Linked DNA regions of Homo sapiens: region 2 is linked to region 1. Evidence: promoter capture Hi-C in human tissues and cell types (Jung and others, 2019). All regions are on one chromosome and are shown on one strand. Each heading gives the region's core, a stretch centred on a gene start or on the middle of the fragment in contact. The rest is flanking DNA. Distances are from core to core; before and after follow the strand shown. Region 1 holds the start of A4GNT (alpha-1,4-N-acetylglucosaminyltransferase). Region 2 overlaps NME9 (NME/NM23 family member 9).

Region 1 (5,076 bases), core at 154-2,653:
AAGACCCTTCATAAAGAACACCACAGGCCACTCAGGATAAATCTTGGCAGCAGACTCTACGGAACAGGAGACCAAATGGGGTGGCTCCATTCTCTCTGAGGTCTCTAGAAACACAATGCCACGTCTGTGGCTCAGGAGGGCTTCCAGCCCCTGGTGGGACTTGAAAGAAGGCAAACAGAAGAGGCAGCTGGACTTCAGGGTGAACTGGTAGAGGAAGCCACAGACAAGCAGCAAGGTGACTGACAGGGAGAGCTGGAGCTCCTTCCGCATGTCCTCTTCTCTGTGCCAGCCTGCTCCTTTAAATCAACACAATTAATTAAAAATCACAGCTGCAAAACCTGACAAAGATAGCACACAAGAAAATGATACATGAATATCATTTAAAAACTTAAATTTTAAATATCCTAAATAAAATATGATGAAATCAAGTCCAGCAATATTAAAAAAAAAATGCAGCCAGGCATGGTGGCATATGCCTGTAGTCCCAACTACTAGGGAGGCTGAGGCAGGAGGATCCCCTGAGTCCAAGAGTTCAAGACTAGCTTGGGCAGCATAGTGAAAATCATCACAAAAATTTAAAAAAAAAGAAAAAGAAAAAGACAAGAAATATGTGAGAAAGAAAAATGCATCATAACCAATCAGGATTTATCTTAGATTTTAAAATGATTTGACATTAAAAATAATTAGTTAATAGGGAAAACTATTGATAAAATGCATTATCTTAACAGTCTAAAGAAGAAAAGCCATATGATCATTTTGGCTCAAGAGATGCCAAGAATGTGACTAACTTTAAGATCCATTCACAATTTTTTTAAAGTACAAGGAAACTTTCTTAAGCTGATTTTAAACAATGTCTACCAGAACATATAGCAATTATCATACTTAATATGAAACATTTGAAACATCCCATTAAGATCAGGAATATGATATGAATGTCCATTGTCATTGTCACTGACATCATTGGTTACAATCTGATAATTGTAACCAATGCAATAAAACAAGAGAAATGAATTTCTACTACGAATATTAAAAGAGGCAAAAGTATCTCTAGGTTCAGAAAACATAACTGAAAAACTAATAGAACTAAGAAAAAAAATTAACAAAGGAAGCAAACTGAAGGCTAAAGAGTTAAATAAATTGCCAAGATCACACGATTAGCAAGTAGCAGAGCTGTGACTGTAACTTGCATCCACCTGCCACCAAAGTCCAGGCTCTGAACCGTTACCTGCAGTGCTTTCCTCACCAAAAATGTTAGCTCTAACCAAGGAGAACACAGATCTCACGTCTTGGCAGGTCTATCTTTCAAATTACATATAACCCTTTTAGAAAATACAAAACAGTGAATCAGAGCCTAACTTCTAGCTGCAAATGCAGTTAACCAGTATTTGAGGTCTTAGAAATGACAAGTTCTTCCTGCTACACTTTCTGATAAATCACCACCCAATCTTCCAACTCAACAACACAGGGGTAAGTAAATCATTGGCAGATTGAGACTAAACACAAAAAGTTCCCAGGAAGCTCCTCCCTTTACTAAGTTCTCCCAAACACAGCCACTTGGGAACAAGAGGGGTTTACCAGATTTTTAAGGTGACCCACACACTAATCCTGCCTGTTTGTGGATCTATTATGGGGGTTATAAAGGGATTATTTCACCTGGAGAAAACTGTATCCTGGCATAACCTTGGAGCCAACATATCCTGCACTTGATCAGTTTAGCTTGAATCAAAATTATGGACAGAGACCCTGTAAGGTGGTACAAACTCCCCTTTGCAAGCACAAAGTTTGATTAAAAGGAAAGAGAGCCCATCACCACAAATAAGCAATGAACAAAGCCCTGCAGTCCAAAGGCCCAGTGATCTAGAATGAGAAGTGATTCCCCAGTGTCAGTCACAGTGGCTGCAGGAAGGCTCCTTTTTCCCCAAGGTCCCCCTTATGGGGTATAAGCCTCGTCCCAGTCTCAGGAAGCCAGCTTTGTTGTCCTCCACTGATGTGGCAGTCCCCACATTTCCCAAGGTGTTAGCACTCACCTGTGGCCTATTCTCCACCGCCCCTGAAATGAGCTCTTAGCAATCTTCTTTGGAGCCATCCTCTGCTGAGAGTCACCTGTCTTGGCCATGAGCAGGTATTCACAGTTCCCCCTGGATGCTCTAGTGTGAGCAGGTAGGCCTGCTCCTGAGCAGACTTTAGATTCTAACATAGCAGGTCCTACATGAAGGGAGTTAAAGCTGCCCCACTCATTGATGGCTTCTGGTTTTCTATGTGTCCAAGGACCCCAGAAACAGCTTGTAGGTCTCCACAAACCTCTTCCTTTTGGAGCTGAATTTCTTCTCTGGACCTCATTAATTCTGGGCTCAGAGTGCCTTGGCATCTTTCCAAAGTTCTCTGTAATTGGACAGATTGGTTGTTCTTTCCTATGAAGGGGAGTGGAGATTAGTGCTCCTGCTCCTTGCCCAGGGGTAACTAGAGGACCCCATCTGTGGGAGTGATAACACATTCCTGGGCCTCAGGTGGGTCACATATCTTAGTGCCTCCCAACTGCTAGCCCAGTGGCTAAAACTATTGAACAAGTGGTCAAGGCAGAGATCAGTGATGTAGTTAATGGCCTTTGTCAGGTGAGGATGAATGTGAGCATCAGCAATGCAGTGAAATCCCAAGCACAAAAGTAGGACCTATCTGACCAAGAACCAAGTAGAAAGCATGATGGAAGTAGCACTGAGCTTGGAGTTATGCCTCCAGCCACCACAGGCTGAGGGCACTAGACAAGCCCCTAAACTGCCCAGAGCCTCAACTCCCTTGAAAAGTGCAGAAAATGACCGACCTCAGGCTCACTGTGAGAATGAAAGTTCTCTTTAAACCAAAGAAGTTATTGTCACTTTCTACCAAGGAAAATAGAAGAGAAAAATAGAATTATATCAATATGGATGGTATTTGTACTCCCTGATAACAAACATTAAGTTGTTTTGTTTTGTTCAGATGAGTGAAATCTATTCCCTATTCTAACCTTGTTTTTTTTTTTTTTGTTTTTTTTTGAGACAGAGTCTCCCTCTGTTGCACAGGCTGGAGTGCTGTGGTGTGATCTTGGCTCACTGCAACCTCTGCCTCCCTGGTTCAAGTGATTCTCCTTCCTTGGCCTCCCAAGTAGCTGGGACTACAGGCATGTGCCACCATTCCTAGATAATCTTTGTATTTTTAGTAGAGACAGGGTTTCACCATATTGGCCAGGCTGGTCTCGAACTCCTGACCTCAAGTGATCCGCCCACTTTGGCCTCCCAAAGTGCTGGGATTACAGGCATGAGCCACCGCGCCTGGTCCCCAGTGAACTTTTAAGAGGGAAATCTTCAACCCTGTATAAGAGTTGATGAGATGCGTTCAGAAGCCAGGTCACTGGTACTTGGAGCCTCTGTAGGTTCATAGCCCAAAGTCCTTCCTGTGTCTTTCTGAGAAGGCCTCCTGTCATCTGAGCCACTCTACCTGGAACTTCTCAGGGCCCCCAACATCCATCCTTCAGCATTCCCTTTGGTTTGAGAAACAGAACTACTTTCCCTTCCTTCTGCACCCCTTTCTGCCTTTCCTGGCCTATACCACACTAACTTCTGTCTGTTCAGGCAGGTGTCACAGCAGCAGCTCTTAACCTGGACTTTACAGATCCCTAGAAGCTCCAAGGATGGGCTTCAGGAGACCCTGAACCCTGGCACCATATTTTACATCAGTACCTTAACCCAGGATGTCACTTGTCCATACCTTTTCCTACATATCACCTTCCCTAAGAAATGTCCCTGCTCCCTGACCCTCCTTGACACTAACTCTGCTCAAAATTCTTCTGGATTTCTTCACTACACAATCTCAGGCCTTCTCCAACTAGCCAAGCAACCCCTAGGAACCCCAATGTAGATATCTGAGTAGAGATGTACAAAGAACTACTTGTCTTTGAGCAATGGATGTGTCTGAATACAGCGATGGCAGTCACATATGCATTCAGGTGTTGTCTACTTTCCTAGGAATTTCTGAGTCGTGTGAAGAGTTCTTGCTTCCTCCATTATAATGTAAGCCAGACTTGGTCAATCCAACAGACTATGGAGCCTGGGCAATTGTTGCTGACTGATGAGAACTTAGGAAATGTGAATTGATGTGGCCCCAAATAAATTAACAGGATAAGACAAAACCTCTGAATTCAGCGTTTTTCTATTATACTTGGATGTTTGGAACTAGTGTTAAAAAAAAAAAAAAAAAGGGCAGACCAGGGAGAAAAACCATAGAACTGGAGGAGAAGAGGAGACATTTCCCCAACTCTTCAGCCCTATGGATGACCTCTGATAACCTCAATTGAAAATAGTTCAGTGTTTGGCACTAAACTTCCTCCTTCTACAGGACCCACTGTATTAAGAAGGGGAAGTTAAAATAATTTTTTTAACAATAAATGTTTGTCGAATTGAATTTCACATGAAAAGCACAATGCTTAATTCTATAGCTTCTTTGAACTCAGATTTATTGCAAGAAGGAAATTTTCAACCCAGCAATATTTGTCCTCTTTACTTTGGAGCCTTTGGAACCACAGTTCCTGTTTTAACATATTTGTTAAGCAAGCGGGGCTGATAAACTTGTTAAAGCATTCAGTTATTAACAGGGAAAAACCAATACACAAAGTGATATCTTATCAACAATGCCAATTCCCTTCACCACTGTTCTGAAGTTGGAACAAAGACTGGAATGCTGGGTTTACATGAATGGAGAGGAGATGGCTGGACAGAGGCATTTCACTGCAGACTAAGAACAATCCATAGCATAACACTAGGAAACCCATAGAGGAATAATAAAATAATTGACATGCATTAAGGACTGACATTATCAACATTAAATCCTGAAAAAAGTAATTGTTAAAAAGTATTTTTCACTAAAAATCAATGAGTTAGCACCGGAGTAAAATCTCTTTGTCCCTTAGCAATATTTTAAACTGTTCTGCATTTCCAGGGAAATGAATCTAGCCTTGTGTATCTGGTGATAATGCTCTTTGTTCTCCACTCAGCCACAGCAGTCAAACATGCCCCTGTTTGCAACACTTTACATAGCTATCAATAA
Region 2 (5,386 bases), core at 2,885-5,384, 180 kb after region 1:
TTGAGAAGGAAGACATTGTGAACATCATCCCATTCTGCAGAAAAATCCCATAAGATATGAACTGGTAACTACCTGTTGGTGCCACCAATGAGCACCATTTCAGGGAGTAGTGAGCGCAGAGGCCAGATTGCTGCAGGTCGGGGCATGAATGGAAAGTGAAGGTGGCCTAGAGTGTGGACAAAGGAAGCTTGGCTGTGAATAAGAGGAAGGCTAAGGAAGGGTAAGGGCGGTATCTTAGATGGTTTTCTACGTGGGAGAGACTTGATTTGGGAGGAAATCATGGAGGAGGGAAGAAAGAGGAGATGATGCAACAGGGGAGCAACAAATGTCTCCTGCAGAATCACAATCACTGATTTTCTCTTCACCCTTGAAGTTTTGCTGTCCTAAACTGTGCCTTCTCCGTTGTTAGAATCCAACTCAAACAATTCTTATTCTCCACACATGTAAAAACAGCCTATTTCAAGCAATAATTTAAAAAATCTTCCTCCTCTTATCAACACAGTTCCTGAGCCTAATTCTGGTTTTCCCTCATGTCTCAGTTACCACCAAGAGACACCGTCCCAGCAACAGCCTTCCTAACTGTTAGCTTTTCTTCATTCTGTCAGGTCAAGTTGTTCTCATATGAAGGGTTCAAGAAGTACTGTGATACCCAGGAGTGTAAAATCTGCAAGTTAATATTTGGGGAACACAGGAAAGAGGTTGTAGGGCTCTGGGAAGGAAAGGTTTTCTAACATTTAAGAAAGAGGTGAAAAAAGAAGCTTGAGCTTTTTTAAAAAGTTCAAATAAGAACTAAGGAAATAACAGCATCATTGCTTTCGATTATTGGTGTTGCTACCCTCCATTTTATTACATGCAGCTTTTTTGATGCCTGGTAATTGCGATGAAAGTCACACGTGTTATATTTGAACATAAAATGCTGTGAAATGTGCCCAAAATGCTGATAAAGATCCAAAAAGATATTTGACACAGTATGTTTGAAGTCAAGTGACTGGAGACAAAATATTTTATGGTTAAGCTTCCCAGAGTCTTTCCAATTTATCTAGCAACAGGCTTCTCAATAGAAACTATATAGGCCAGGAGGCAGTGGAATGACATTTCCAAAATACTGAAAGAAAAAAAAAAAAAAAAAAAAAAAACTGTCATCCAAGAATACTGTACCCAGCAAAGCTATCCTTCAAATATGAAGGCAGGCCAGGCATGGTGGCCCAGCACTTTGGGAGGCTGAGGTGGGCAGATCACCTGACATCAGGGGTTCAAGACCAGCCTGACCAACAGGGCAAAACCCTGTTTCTACTAAAAATACAAAAAAAAAATTAGCTAGGTGTGGTGGCACATGCCTGTAATCCCAGCTACTGGGGAGGCTGAGGCAGCAGGAGAATCACTTGAACCCAGGAGGCAGAGGTTGCAGTGAGCCAAGATTGTGCCACTGCACTTCAGCCTGGTTGACAGAGTGAGACTTCATCTCAAACAAAAAAAAAAAAAGAAGGAATGCCTAAGGAAATCTTTAATCTGAAAGAAAAAAATACTAATATGCAAAAAGAAGACATTTGAGGTATAAAACCCACTGTTGGCTGGGCACAGTGGCTCACGCCTATAATCCCAGCATTTTGGGAGGCCAAGGCAAGTGGATCACTCGAGGCTAGGAGATCAAGACCAACCTGGCCAACATGGTGAAACCCTGTCTCTACTAAAAATACAAAAATTAGTTGGGCATGGTGGCACACGCCTGTAATCCCAGCTACCCAGGAGGCTGAGGCATGAGAATCACCTGAGCCCAGGAGGCGGAGGTTGCAGTAAGCTAAAATCGCACCATTGCACTCCAGCCTGGGTGACAGAACTAGAGTGAGCCAAGATCATGCCACTGCACTCCAGCCTGGGTGACAGAGCTAGACTGTCTCAAAAGAAAAAAAAAAGCCAGATGCAGTGGCTCATGCCTGTAATCCCAAGACTTTGGGAGGCCAAGGCAGGCAGATCACCTGAGGTCGGGAGTTCCAGACCAGCCTGACCAACATGGAGAAACCCCATCTCTACTAAAAATACAAAATTAGCCAGGTGTGGTGGTCCATGCCTGTAATCCCAGCTAATTGGGAGGCTGAGGCAGGAGAATCGCTTGAACCCAGGAGGTGGAGGTTGCAGTGAGCCAAGATCATGCTAGCCTGGGCGACGAGTGAAACTCCATCTCAAAAAAAAAAAAGAAAAGAAACCAAGACCCAACTATATGCTGCCTACAAGAAACCCACTTTACCTATAAAGACACATAGACTGAAAGTGAAGGCATGGAAAAAGATATTCATTGCAAGTGGAAACCAAAAGAGAGCAAGAGAAAATATACTTAGAGAAGGTCACTATATAATGATAAAGGAGTCAGTTCATCAAGAGTAACAATTATAAATATCTACCCAACACCAGAACACTCAAGTATATAAAACAAACATTAATAGATCTAAAGGGAAAGATAGACTGCAATACAGTAATACAATACTACAATACATAGGGGACTTCAACACCCTACTGTTAGTGATGGACAGATCATTCAGGCAGAAGACAAACGTCATAGTCAAACTGCATACTAGACCAAACAGACCTAACTGATATTTACAGAAGATTTCACCCAACTGCTACAGAAAAGACATTATTTTCATCAGCATGTGGAATATTCTCCAGAATAGAGCAAATTATAAGCCACAAAACTAGTCACAACAAATTTAAAAAAGCAGAAATCATATATATCTTTTCTGACCACAGTGAAATAAAATTAGAAATCAATAGTAAGAGGAACCTCAGAAACTACACAAACACATGAAAATTAGACAACATACTCATGAACAACAAATGCATCAGAGAATAAATTAAAAAGGGAAATTTTTAATTTCTTGAAACAAATGAAAACGGAAATACACATCCAAAATCTACAGGATACAGTAAAAGGAGTAATACAGTAAAGGGGAAGTTTGTAGCAATAAATGCTTACATCAAAAAACGTAGGAAGACTTCAAATAACCGAATGGATGCACCCAAATGCGCTAAAAAAGCAATAACCAAACCCCCAATTAGTACTAGGAAGCAAATAATAAAGATCAGAGCAGAAATAAATGAAATTGAGCCTAAAAAATACAGAAGATCAATGAAGCAAAAAGTTGATTTTTTGAAAAGATAAAATCAACGAAACTTTAGCTAGACTAAGAAAAAGAGATGACCCAAATAAAATCAGAAAGAAAATGGAGACATAACAACTGGAAACCACAGAAATATAAAGAATCATTAGACACTGTTATGAACAACTATACACCAACAAATTTGAAAACCTAAAAGAAATAGATAAATTCCTGGATATATGCAGTCTACCAAGATTGAACCATGAAGAAATAGAAAACCTCAACAAACCAATAACAAATAACAAGATCACAACTGTAATAAAAAGTCTTCTGCCAAAGAAAATCTCAGGACCTGATGGCTTCAATTCTAAATTCTACCAAACATTTAAAGAATAACTAATACCAATTATACTCAAACTCTTCAAAAAAATTTGAAGAGGAGGGGAAACTTCCAAACTCATTCTGTGAGGCCAGAATTGCCCTGATAGCAAAACCAGACAAGGACACAACAAAACGAGAAAACCAGGCCAATATCCTTGAAGAACATAGATGAAAAAGTCCTAAACAAAATACTAACAAACCAACTTCAACAACACATCAAAAAGATCATTCACTATGTGGGATTCATCCCAGGGATGTAAAAAGGGTTCATCATATGTAAATCAATAAATGTGATTCATCAAATCATTAACAGAACCAAGAACAAAAACCATATAATCATTCCAATAGATGCTGAAAAACCATTCAATAAAATTTGAATTCCCTTTATGATAAAAAACCTTCAAAACACTGGGTATAGAAGGAACATACCTCAAAACAATAAAAGCCATGTATAACAAACCCACAGCCAGCATCATAGTGAATGGGGAAAATTTCAAAGCCTTCCCTCAAAAATCTCGAATAAGACAAGGATGCCTGCTTTTACCACTTTAATTCAAAGACCCCACCAAAAAACTGTTAGAACTGATAAACGAAATCAGTGAAGTTGCAGGATACAAAATCAACATACAAAAACCCGTAGCATATGTATATACCAACAGCAAACAATCTGAAAAAGAAACCAAGAAAGCAATCACATTTACAATAGCTACAAAGAATATAAAAATGTAGACTTCAATTTAACCAAAAGATGTGAAAGCTCTCTACAAGGAAAACTATGATACACTGATGAAAGAAATTGAAGAGGACACACACACACACAAATGGAAAGATATTCCATGCTGATGGATTGGGAGAATTAATATTGTTAAAATGTTAATAGTGCCCAAGGCAATTTACAGATTCAATGCAATCCCTATCAAAATACCAAAGACATTCTTCTCAGAAATAGAAAATACAATCCTAAAATTTATATGGAACCACAAAAGACCCCAAATAACCAAAGCCATCCTGAGCAAAAATAACAAACCTGGAGGCATCACACTACCTGACTTCAGATTATACTACAAAGCTATAGTGACCAAAACAGCAAAATACTAGCATAAAAACAGACACAGAATAGCGAACCCAGATGTAAATCCACACATTTATAGCCAGCTCATTTTCAACAAAGGTGCCAAGAACATACAATGGTGAAAAGGACATTCTCTTCAATAAATGGTGCTGGTTAAACTGAATAACCATATGCAGAAGAATGAAATTACACCCCTATTTCTCACCATATACAAATACAAAATCAAAATAGATTAAAGGCATAATTCTAAGACCTGATACTATGAAACTATCAAAAGACAACATTGGGGAAATGCTCCAGGATATTGGTCTGAACAAAGATTTTTTGTGTAAGACCTCAAAAGCATAGGCAACAAAAGCAAAAATAGATAAATGAGATCACATCAAGCAAAGAAGCTTCTGCAAAGCAAAGGACACAATCAACAAAGTGAAGAGACAACCCACAGAGTGGGAGAAAATATTTGCAAACTATCCCTCCGACAAGGGATTAATAACCAGAATATATAAGGAGCTCAAACAACTTAAAAGCAAAAAGAAAAATAATCTGATTTTTAAATGGGCAAAAGAGCTGAGTAGACATTTCTCCAAAAAAAGACATAAAAATGGCCAGTGGGTATATGAAAAAGGTGCTCAATATCACTAATCATCAGGGAAATGCAAATCATAAAATCACAATAAGATGTCATCTCACCCCAGTTAGAATGGGGACTATTAAGAAAAAAAAGGGAGGCCAGGTGTGGTGGCTCACGCCTGTAATCCCAGCACTTTGGGAGGCCAAGGCGGGTGGATCACCTGATGTCAGGAGTTCAAAACCAGCCTGGCCAACATGGCGAAATCCA

The links. Contacts are between HindIII fragments. The study calls those that stand out against the background at their distance.
Region 2: a contact is called between a fragment that was not itself captured here and the fragment with the promoter of A4GNT in region 1, in 3 of the 25 tissues and cell types used here (aorta, spleen and thymus).

Annotation. Positions count from the first base shown.
Region 1 is chr3:138,130,987-138,136,062 of GRCh38, forward strand. It overlaps A4GNT (alpha-1,4-N-acetylglucosaminyltransferase), which reads right to left and starts at 1,404. Exons shown (of 3, transcript NM_016161.3): 1 at 1,226-1,404; 2 at 1-296. The coding sequence starts at 270. The HindIII fragment of the contact is 13,843 bases long and covers 1-5,076 here.
Region 2 is chr3:138,307,834-138,313,219 of GRCh38, forward strand. The region is part of intron 6 of NME9 (NME/NM23 family member 9); the gene reads right to left. Among named protein-coding and RNA genes, the nearest start is that of NME9, 19 kb to the right of the region's middle. The HindIII fragment of the contact is 7,325 bases long and covers 473-5,386 here.